Regions from separate parts of the Homo sapiens genome. Here region 2 is linked to region 1. Evidence: promoter capture Hi-C in 16 types of primary human blood cells and fetal thymus (Javierre and others, 2016). All regions are on one chromosome and are shown on one strand. Each heading gives the region's core, a stretch centred on a gene start or on the middle of the fragment in contact. The rest is flanking DNA. Distances are from core to core; before and after follow the strand shown.

Region 1 (5,788 bases), core at 1,922-4,421:
CTAAAGTGAAATAAATCAATGTTTGGCCCTACAGGTGCTATGGTCTCTTGATCACAGCTAAATCCTTGATGAGCTAAAAATGCCTGAAGACATCACTGAACCTGATTTTGTAAGATTACACTGTAACTGAATTTGCCCCTGGGGCAATGAGTCTGGTGTTTCCTGTGATGGTAGGTCAAGTCAGATTCAGGACTAGTTGAGAAACTGTCCTTATCATGGCTCATACATGAGAGCATGCCTTCTAAAGTGGATTTAAGTAATGTTTCATGAAAAAATAATGCAGAAAATCATGACTAACAAAAATAAAAATGCTAGTATACTTTAAAATATATGACATTTTAAGATAAGTCGTTGAACAAAAGTAAACAAAATCAAACCCATTAAGTGGAAATGTTCACCTCTTAAGAGTTTGGAACTTAGCTTTGTTTTTTGTTTTGCTTTGTTTTGTTTTGTTTTGTTTTTTGTATCCATAGAACTTAGTTTTGATTGGAGTTAGGTAGAAAAAGACAGTGAAGTAGTTATGATTTGGGCAGGCTTATTCTTTGTTGGTTAACTTGAAGCAGTCAGGGTAAACCAGATAAATGATTTTGAAACCCTTAATTTTTCTGCTTTTGGGCAAGAAGAACTGACCCATTTGCAGATAGACTTGTCTGTCCTCCAGAAAAGACATAGATTATAATACATTTGGGCCGTACAATCAAAGTTAAATATGACTTAAGAATACTAGTTTTTAAAATGAAAAAGTAATACATACACACAGAAATTTCAAAAGGGTATAGAATGAAAAATGAGTCTTGTTCCTGAAACACAATTGCTTATTTCTGATTTCTTGTGTGTAGCATAAAAAAAGAAATATTCTAGAAAGGCTATAACAAATGCTGGTGAGGATAGGGAGAAAAGGGAACTCTCATACACTGTTGGTGGGAATGTAAATTAGTACAACCACTATGGAGAACACTTTGGAGGTTCCTCAAAAAACTAAAAATTGAGCCACCATAAGATCCAGCAATCGGACTGCTGGGTATCTACCCAAAAGAAAGGACATCAGTACATTGAAGAGATATCTGCACTCCTATGTTTGTGGCAGCACTGTTCACCATAGCTAAGATTTGGAAGCAACTTCAGTGTCCATCAACAGATAAATGGATAAAGAAAATGTGATACATATACACAATAGAGTACTATTCGGCCACAAAAAAGAATAAGATCCTGTCATTTGCAACGACATGGATGGAACCAGAGGTCATTATGTTAAGTGAAATAAGCCAGAAACAGAAAGTCAAACATCACATGTTCTCACTTATTTGTGATATCTAAAAATCAAAACAATTGAACTCATGCACATAGAGAGTAGAAGCATGGTTACCAGAGGCTGGGAAGGGTAGTGGAGGGCTGGTGGGGCAGGTAGGGATGGTTAATGGGTGCAAAAACTAGTTAGAAAGAATGAATAAGACAAAGTATTTAATAGCACAACAGGGATACTGTAGTGAATAATAACTTAATTTTACATTTTAGTATAACTAAAATAGTATAATTAGATTTTTTGTAACACAAAAGATAAATGTTTGAGGGGATGGATACCCCATTTTTCATGATGTAATTATTATGCATCATATGCATGTATCGAAACATCTTATGTACCCCATAAATATATACACCTACTGTATACCTACAAAAATTAAAATACAAAATTTTAAAAAGAAATATTCTATTACATAAGCATGTATATACATATATTCCTTAAAAATACAAACTGGAAAATGAGTTCTTGCTAAACAATATATGTTAGAGATCTTTTTTTTTCTTTTTTTTTTTTTTTGAGATGGAGTCTCGCTCTGTCACCCTGGCTGGAGTGCAGTGGCACAATCTCAGCTCACTGTGACCTCCACCTCTCGGGTTCAAGGGATTCTCATGCCTCAGCCTCCGAGTAGCTGGGATTACAGGTGCCCACCACCACGCGTGGCTAAGTTTTGTATTTTTAGTAGAGACAAGGTTTCACCATGTTGGCCAGGCTGGTCTCAAACTTCTGACCTCAAGTGATCCACCTGCCTCGGCCTCCCAAAGTGCTAGGATTACAGGCGTGAGCCACCGCACACAACCTACATAGGATTTTAAGTATGCATACGTTCTCATTTACTTGGCCAATATCTTATTTATGGATATAATTTTTTCTAGTCATTTATTTTCTCAAGCAATGCTGCAACAAATATCTTTTCACATAAGTCTTTGTGTACAAGTGTAAACATATAGCTTGGACAAATTTATAAAAAATACAATTGTTGGGTCAAAGGGTATGAATATTTGTATTTGAGAGATACTGGGAAATTGCCCTCTAAATATGTTTACAATCTCATCAGTAGTGTTTGAGAGTGCTTGTTTCTTCACAACTTTGCCCACACCATGTATTATTGTTTTGACCTTCGGTATTTGGAGAGGGAAAACTTTTTTCTTTTTTTTTTCTTTTGAGACGGAGTCTCGCCCTGTCGCCCAGGCTGGAGTGCAGTGGCGCGATCTCGGCTCACTGCAAGCTCCACTTCCCGGGTTCACGCCATTCTCCTGCCTCAGCCTCCCGAGTAGCTGGGACCACAGGCGCCCGCCACCGCGCCCGGCTAATTTTTTGTATTTTTAGGAGAGACGAGGTTTCGCCGTGTTTGCCAGGATGGTCTCGATTTCCTGACCTCCTGATCCACCTGCCTCGGCCTCCCAAAGTGCTGGGATTACAGGCGTGAGCCACTGCGCCCGGCCGAGAAAATTTTTTTCATTTACATTTTTAAAAATTATAAGTACCATTGAGAAATAATACTTCTTAAAAATTATAGATTAGTAACGAAACAGAATTTCCTAAAGTCATATGTGACTTTGGCTTTCTTTTGGGTGAAGGATCCCAGATAATGTACTTTTCTAGAAAGGAAATTTAATTCTGTTGCTAGGGTTCTTACAAAATGTGTAACCATAAACTATTTTAATAAGAGACAGTTTCGTAGATAGGTTTCATTTTTCGAAAAAGGGGAAGAAACACCATTCTGTGGCTTGATGTGGCTTTGTCAGTTACTGCCTCCCCACCTCCCGGGACTTCCCACTGCCTCTTTAGCACAAATCGGACTTGAACAAAAACAACTCTTTTTCCATGGGACCAATTATAAAAAGAATGGCTTTGCACTGAGCAGCTCAGTCTACTGGTCTCATCAGTGAAAGGCTTGTGAAAATTTCTGGAAAGAGCATTGGCTGGCTTGTTCATCTCTCTGTTTGGTCAGTTGCTGTGTTTCTGCCGGATCAGATGAGCAGATTGGTTAGTGAAGGTAAGAAAAAGAAAGCAAAGGACCCTAGAACTCCGCTATTATTTTTTGTCATCTGTCTTCTCACGCTTTCTTAGCCCTTTATCACGAGAGCGCTGATCCATTCTTATGACATCTAAAATGCTTTTCTAGCTTACCATATCAGAGACAAGTGGGAGTTTAAACAAGCATTCAGTGGAGTTGAAAAATAAAGAGAAATTAAGCCCAATACTTCCTTTCCTTACCTCCTCGTGTCCACATTCTAAGCATTTCTAAAACACTTATATTTTTACCTACAATTTTTGACTGATCTGAGCAAATATTTATTGTGTTATTTTTGCAGTCCTCTTTCACTAATTGCCACACTGGTTTAGCTTCTGCATTTTTAAAAGAAGGCCTAAAAACCTAAGCAGGGTTTTGCAGGGACAACACAGCTCTTGAATTCAGTTACGGTGATGCAGTTTTAGAGACGAAAACAATCACAGTCCTTTCCAATTGGATTTGACTCTCAATTATTCAGTTCAGCAAGCTTGTGATAGTGTTTTTCTGTGTGGCAGGATGTATTCAAAATGAATGCGATCTATAGTGAGGATGCTTTTCGACTTTCATCTGGGTGATTTGGGGAAAGCTTCCCTTTTGGTATTAAAGATAGCGCATGTACGAGTGGAGTTTTGTTTGAATTATCTTTAGACTCGCTCAAACATTCTTTGTCTTGCGCATATGAATCTGTGCTTAAATATAGACCTGGTTTGGACAGAATATTTATATTGATATTTTATAACATTTCTTGCATAGGTCAGTGTGAGAAGAAGATTGTTTCTGAGCTTGAGAAGCTTCTGGAGGATTGAAGAGTATTTGAAGTCTGTGTCAAACATCCATATCATAAGTGGAATTTTGGAGATATTCAAAGGTAGTACACTAATTCTATTATCTCAGAGCAAAATGATGTTTGAAGTATTTATATCAAGTCACTGAGACATTTCTCATCTCATATGTAGTGATTATTTTAGATATATAAGATATTGTCCCTCTAGGCTCTTAATAAACATTATACAATGTAAATATGCCTTCATTAACTAAATATGGTTTTTTCCCCCTCCCAATTTTTATTTAGAAATGTTTCAAATCTATATAAAAATTGAAAGAATAGTACAACGAACACCCATATTTTCATCATGTGTATTAATCAGTGGTATCTTTTTGCCACATTTACTTTCTCTCTCGCTTTGTCTTTCTCTGTCTCTGCCTGTCCTTTTCTCTCTCTCTATATGTGTATATATATATTCACACACACGCATGCACATATGCACAGTTTTTTCCCTGAATGGTTTGAAAGTATGTTGCTGACTTTAGGACACATGTCACCCCTAAATTCTTGAGCATGTATCTCCTAAAAATAAAGGCAGTCTTCTATAACACATTACAACACCACGGAAACATAACATCAACACAATACTATTATCTAAGATGTGATACACATTCAAATTTTCCTAATTATCCACATGTCCTTTAGAATCTTTTTATGTTTTAAATCCAGGATCCAATCAAGAATCTTGCATTGCATTTGTAGTTGACATGCCTACAATTAAGTAAATGTTAATGAAATTGGCATAATTAACATGATTAACAATGATTAACAATTATAACACCAAAGAAATTTATATCAGTACAATACTATTATGATAGGTTTCTTATTTTTTTAGTCCTCTCATTTTGCATCAAAATACATTGAAAGTGATTCAAAAAATGATCCAAAAGGTTTAATTTTTCAATTTATATCAAGAAGGAGTATAAAGAAAAATCCAAACTATGATAAAATATATTTACTAATATTTCTGCACCAAAGTTTACATTTTCTGAACTAAGAAAATTCACACATCAGATCGTCCTTGGAAGTAGCCATTAACTTTGGTCATAAGAATCTAAGCAGAACCAAACAAAAAATTATTTATTTACTTGGTAATATTAATATGAAGAAGAGAGGGCTTTTGATTTATGATTGTATTATCTTAGCCATAAAGTTATACTTTCAGAAATTAATTTGTTAAGAATCACTTCATATTTGATACAAGAATAGATAATCCCAAATTATATGATTTGTAACAGAAATTGAAATATTAATGAGCAATATTTTAGAGCATTCATCAATAAATTCAATACAAGCTGAAATAATAGGGATATAATCTAAGGTATGTGATTAAGTGATTATTTCCAGCTCTAAGGAACAGGTATTTTTAAAGATAAGAGTAAGGAAACTGCAGATGCTATTTTATACAGGGAGGTCCTTCCTAAAGAAGCTTTTTGTTTAGGTAAAGGTCTAGCATCATTCACTGAAAAAAAACTGGAACATGTAATACAGATTTGGTTACATTATCATAATTAAATCATGAACAAAACAATATTCAAGTTTTTCAGTGATCACTTTTCAGCAATTTACCTGCAAGTCCCCCACACCAAGAAAGTCTTAAAAAGTTTACAATGGAATTATGGGATTTAGAATTTATATTATAGGG
Region 2 (5,788 bases), core at 1,621-4,120, 140 kb before region 1:
TCTGGTGTAGACATTAGGGATGAGTGGCTGATATATCTTCCTTCTCACTTTAAAAAAGGCTATGGCCGGGCGCGGTGGCTCACGCCTGTAATCCCAGCACTTTGGGAAGCCAAGGCGGGCGGATCACGAAGTCAGGAGATCGAGACCATCCTGGCTAACGCGGTGAAATGCTGTCTCTACTAAAAATACAAAAAAAAAAAAAAAAAAATTAGGCGGGCGTAGTGGTGGGCACCTGTTGTCCCAGCTACTCGGGAGGCTGAGGCGGGAGAATGGCATGAACCCGGGAGGCGGAGCTTGCAGTGAGCCGAGATTGTGCCACTGCACTCCAGCCTGGGCAACAAAGTGAGACTCCGTCTCAAAAAAAAAAAAAGGCTATTCTAACTAGCTATACCTGACAGTGTGGCAGTATTATTATCCTACACTAAAGGACCATAAACAGTAAAAGCAAATGATTTTTAAAAAGTGATTTTAGAAGTTCTTTTGATAAGCAACGATTTCTCTCATTCACATTTATTCAGTAAAGCCCAATATGCTTGGCAGCCGAATCTGCAATGATAACATTTACTATTTTACTTGGTTCCTTAACTTTTAACTAAACAGAAAAACAAAACTCCCGTGCACTAAGGTCGTTTTCACAGTATATCACTGAACATTTCATTCTTTAAATGTACCCTCCGCATTAATCTGAGGTTCAAACCGCTCCATCGTGACGGCAGACAAATCCTCGGGTTCGAGACTCCATACGCCGACTCCTTCTGCAGCCCCTGCCGCCATAGCCGCACCCAGTGCAGTGGTTTCGGGCATTGAGGGCTTCACTGAGGAGAGAGAGTTCCATCAATATCTTTGTGGTTACATATGCCCAAAGAACTAGTTATTCCACAAGAAACATTACTCTGGGAGTTTAAAGGAATGAAGACTTACTAACCTACTGGTATATACAGAATGTCTGCTTGTAGCTGCATAAGAATTTTGTTGCTGGTCATTCCTCCATCTACCTGCAAATGACTGAGTGGAATTCCACAGTCTCGATTCATGGCATCCAAAATCTTAAATAAACCAGTGCAATTAATGTTATAAATCTATTTCATAGTAACATCTCTGAAAATGGCAATCCTCCACTCAGAAACTCTCAAGAGCTTCCAAGAGCCTATGGAATAAATTGAGACTTCTTATTCTGGTCTTCTAAGCCCTCTTTGATCTGGTCACAGCCAACCTTTTCTCTCACTACACCTCTGCATTCACCTTGATATTCAGCTAAGCTATACAACTCTATTTTGCACCCTGTTTTTCTGCCTTGATGCCTATGTTTGTGCTGTTTCCTTTGCCTAATGTGTGCCACTCAGCCTCCCCACAACCATAAAATTCCCAGTGCCTGACAGGGAACAGGAACTTAGAAGGTAATGACAGCTGGAAAAAGGGGGAAAACCCTGCTTATATTTAGATTAGTATTTAGGCAGCCTTAATATTTGATTAACTACATTTTCAGTACTGAATAAATCTCGGGTGTTAACATATAACTTAAGAGTGATAAAAGTGAACTAAGTACAAGAAAACAGGCCCATATTTGTTACCTCTCGAGTTTGGAAACAAACAGCTTCTAATGCAGCAAAAGCAATATGGCATTTATTGGTGAACTGAGTGAGTCCACAGATTATCCTAAAAATACGCACAAAGATTTTCAGATTAGAATGATATAAACCAATCAATTTGAAATATCTCAAATATGAAAAGGTCAAATTTGGTAGACAGAAATGTCCAGGAAGAGAAAATTGGACATAATCATTAAGTAACTCAGAAAGTCCTTATATTTCACAATTCTGCATTCATGTATGAAAAAATTCATGACACATTTGAAAAGATGATGGCATCATAAAACTGAATCAGTATTCATTATGATGATGTCCCTTCACTATACAACTTACAGACATCATGAAGATAAAAGATAACATGAATACGGATATGGCAGGGGTTATTGTCAGCTGATTCATAACTTCTTGGAGCTTAAAGTTTCTGAAATTATATTCTCCAAAAAGAAAAGGTTTTCTCAACACATTATAATTATTTGAAAATAGATAAGAAACTAATAAGTTATTAACGACTTTGGTAAATAAATCAAGATCCCCAAAAGCACTCCATATTTTCAATACTTACCCTCTTGCGCTGGGCTCCCAATAAGGTGCATATAACCCCGAAAATGCTGGGACGAAGTAGCAGCCATAAGAAGTACCTACTTCTTTAGCAAGTTTTTCTAACATTAAAAACAAAACAAAACAAAAATCACACAAATATTGTGTATTATTATATAAGCATACCTATTTTAAAAATTAGAAAAATTAGGACAGGGGTTTTGGTTTCCAATTCATTGGTAGAGCAAAATGTTGCTAACTACAGTAGTATGCTAGGATCAACAGAAATGAGTTTCTCTCACATTAAATACCCCCCACTAAAATGTAGCCTAGCTCAAGAAATCAAGGAACCAGATTCATTTATTTAAGGTATTTTAGCTCATTTCCACTATTTTTAAGGTTGCTGACTAGGAGATGAAAAAGTGGCCTCTAGTGTGTCCCTAATCAGAAATGTATTTCTGATTGTCTCACCTTCAGGCAAAGTTAAGCAAGTGGATGAAAGAGTGAGTAGGTAAGTTCAAACTAATTATCTATAGACTGAAAACAGCCGTATTAATACTTAAATTATAGGTACCAGAGTTTTAATGCTCACTCTAATCTAAGAGTTAAAGCTCTTTCTCATCAGATAAATTTAACTCAACTTCTCTATCTGCAGGTTCTGGCAATCTCCAGTGTTCAATTTTACACTTGGGTAATTTTTATGCCCTACATTGCCAGTTTATTAACAACCACCACTAATTATGTCAATTCCTTGTTTTATAAATCTTCACAAGATAGTCTTTTGCATAAGTCAAACTCATAATAGGGATCCATATAATTTATGGATCACATTTGGGGCAAAGCATAAGTATTTACTTTGCAGAGATAAAATACTGAAATGTGTCATTTTTCAGATTTTCTAACCTTTTGTTAGAACACACTCACCAATTTCTTCTGAGGTCTTTATAATTCCAAGATTGTCTCTTAGCCAGCGAATAACAGCACCAGCTATAGCTACAGAACCCTAAAGAAAAAAAGGAATTCAAGACAGAATATATTTTATCACTATCCAAGGTTTTTATTGAGCATATTCTGTGTATGACACAATCAGATGGACAGAATTCAGTTTCCATTTTGAGACTCCGACAAATATGTAAACTAGGTCTTCTAATACAAACATAGTTTTATCTAAGTCACTAATAAAAGTTTTTCACGGGATGAGGAAAAGAAGTGAGCTTTCCAGCACACCCTTGGATTTGTCCCCATAGGTGGACATTGATCTTTGATCAGTTTGCTTCTTGAACAATTTTCTGTCTGTTGCTAAGCTACTGAGGTATGTTATCACTTAGAAATATATTGCCATATTGTTCATAAAATTATTGGGAGAGGCCACATTAAAAGTTTTTTCAAGTCTGTTTCCCATATCTAACAGTATAGTAAATCAAGAAAACAAAAAGCAAAGAAGCTAGCTAGTAAGTAATTTTTCTTTAAAACAAAATCACCTAGAGCTGTGGCAATAACAATAAAAACATATTTCAGAGTTGGATAAACTGGCTTTGAGTCCCAGTTCTAGTACTTAATTGCTGTGTAATCTTAGTAACTAATCTAAGTAACTTAGTAAGTTAATCTTAGCAAGTTCATCTAAGTAACTTGCCTAAGTTACTTAGGCTTTCTGAGCCTCCATTTCTTCACCTATAAAATGATGACTATGACAACACTTACCTAAACAAATTACTGTGAGGCTCAATATGAGAATATATGTGAAGGTTCTTACTAAATGTAAATATTGACTTCATTAATTTCTTTAATGTTAAAAAAGTATCAGCCAAATATCACTGACTGATGAATAGATAAAACGCAGTATGTCTACACAATGGAGTATTATTGGACTATGAAAAGGAATGATGTCTTAATACATGCTACAACATGGATGAGCATTGAAAACATTATGCAAAGTGAAAGAAGCCAGGCACAGAAGACGATATATTGTACGATCCCATTCATATGAAATGTCCAGAACAGACAAATCCATAGAGACAGAAAGTAGATTAGTGGTTGCCTGGGCTGGGGGATAGGGGGTGGTTATGGGGTTTCTTTTTGGGGTGGTGACAATGTTCTAAAGTTAGATTGTGGTGATGGTTGTAAAAATCTGTAAATATAGTATTACTATAAACCATTGAACTGTATATTTGAAAAGGGTAAATTGTGTGGAATATGAACTATATCTCAATAAAGCTATTATAAAAAGATCCTGAAGGCAAAAAAAAAAAGAAGTATCAGCACGAACCATTAGGAATACCAAGAAATTTTTTTTAGCTCTGATAGTTCATTCATATAGATTATTAATGTAAATTACTTCCACAGAGTCACTCCAAACCAAACGTCAGGTAATATTAAATGTAGGGACCTGTCCTCAGTTCTATTAACTGAATTACAAATGGTCATGCCTTCTTGTTGTCAGTTGTCAAAATGTAAGTAAACTAGAGAATGAATATGCTGGTATATTCCATCATTCATAGCTTCTATGAGAAGTTACTATGTTACTGCAAAGCTACAGAATGCCACAATTGTTCTGTTTATACATTTTTATATATGTAGACATACATACAGTACTCTGTATCATTACATATATAAAATGGCTTTTTAACCACAGGAAGTATTTGAGGAACAGATCTGGCATAGCTGTGCAAATATGACAAGGCTTTAAAAATGGGACAAAAACAATTCAAGAAATACCTTACAAGGGACTCTAACACAGCTCATTCCCTGCCTAAAATAAGTTGTTGTATTAAGTTTGACACATTTACATATTTAGGTACTTAGTGGGATCATTCAAGAGAACTAAGTAAAATTTTGGTTTAAAGAGATTTAAGATTCAAATTTCCTTTGGAAACAGACAATTCAGAGATAGCAGCTGCCAAATACTAGTAAATATGTAAGAGTTTCTAGACCAGTGCTGTCCAACAGAAATATAAAGTGAGTCACATATGTAATTTATATTTTTGCCACATTAAAAAGGTAAAAGGAAGGTAAAATTAATATTTTATTTAACCCAATGTATTAAAAAAAATTTCAACATGAAATCAATATTAAATTATTGAGATTTTTTTTTGTACTATCTTTGAAATCTGGTATATACTTTACACTTACAGCACATCTCAATTCAGACTAGCCACATTTCCAGTGCTCAATAGCTGCATGTGGCCATGGCTGCCATGGGCAGTATAATTCTAGACCTAATTGAAAAAGAAAAACAAAAACAGGTGTCCCTCCTCCTTATACTCTCAAAGACACTGTCCTTAAATAGCATCTAACCAAGAAATGCATACATAATTGTTTTAGGCAAGTACAGTTAAACTGCGAATTTTTAGAAGCCACTGTGCTAGGAGTCTAGTAAAGTGATTTTGTGGCACAGCTGGTGGGACTTTATACTCTAGGAAACCACGTGCTGATATACCTCATTTCCATTGAAAAAGATAGGATGTTACATGCTTACACCATATTTTTAAGAGAAAGCAATATGATTTTAGCAAAAGGAAAATCAAGGTTTTGATTAGAGGTAATTAGTTGAGAATCAGAGTATTATTTAGATTAAAACAAAAGAAAAAAAATACATAGTCACTGTTAAGGCTCCAGGAGATAACTGTTTTAAATTCTGTCATCAGGAATACACAGAAGTGTTT

Evidence for each region. The method cuts DNA at HindIII sites, captures the fragments that hold promoters and counts their contacts. A CHiCAGO score of 5 or more calls a contact.
Region 2: a fragment that was not itself captured here is called in contact with the fragment with the promoter of TASL in region 1 in 11 of 17 cell types (neutrophils, monocytes, megakaryocytes and 8 more); the score reaches 23.6 in neutrophils.

What each region holds. Positions count from the first base shown.
Region 1 is chrX:30,575,149-30,580,936 of GRCh38, reverse strand. TASL (TLR adaptor interacting with endolysosomal SLC15A4) reads left to right here and starts at 3,171. Exons shown (of 3, transcript NM_025159.3): 1 at 3,171-3,299; 2 at 4,071-4,185. RefSeq lists an enhancer at 2,940-3,149. The HindIII fragment of the contact is 8,514 bases long and covers 1-3,806 here.
Region 2 is chrX:30,715,879-30,721,666 of GRCh38, reverse strand. GK (glycerol kinase) reads right to left here. Exons shown (of 21, transcript NM_001205019.2): 14 at 3,051-3,129; 15 at 2,152-2,248; 16 at 1,572-1,656; 17 at 926-1,046; 18 at 672-815. GK-AS1 (GK antisense RNA 1) reads left to right here and starts at 3,568. Exons shown (of 1, transcript NR_046603.1): 1 at 3,568-5,788. The HindIII fragment of the contact is 6,655 bases long and covers 1-5,788 here.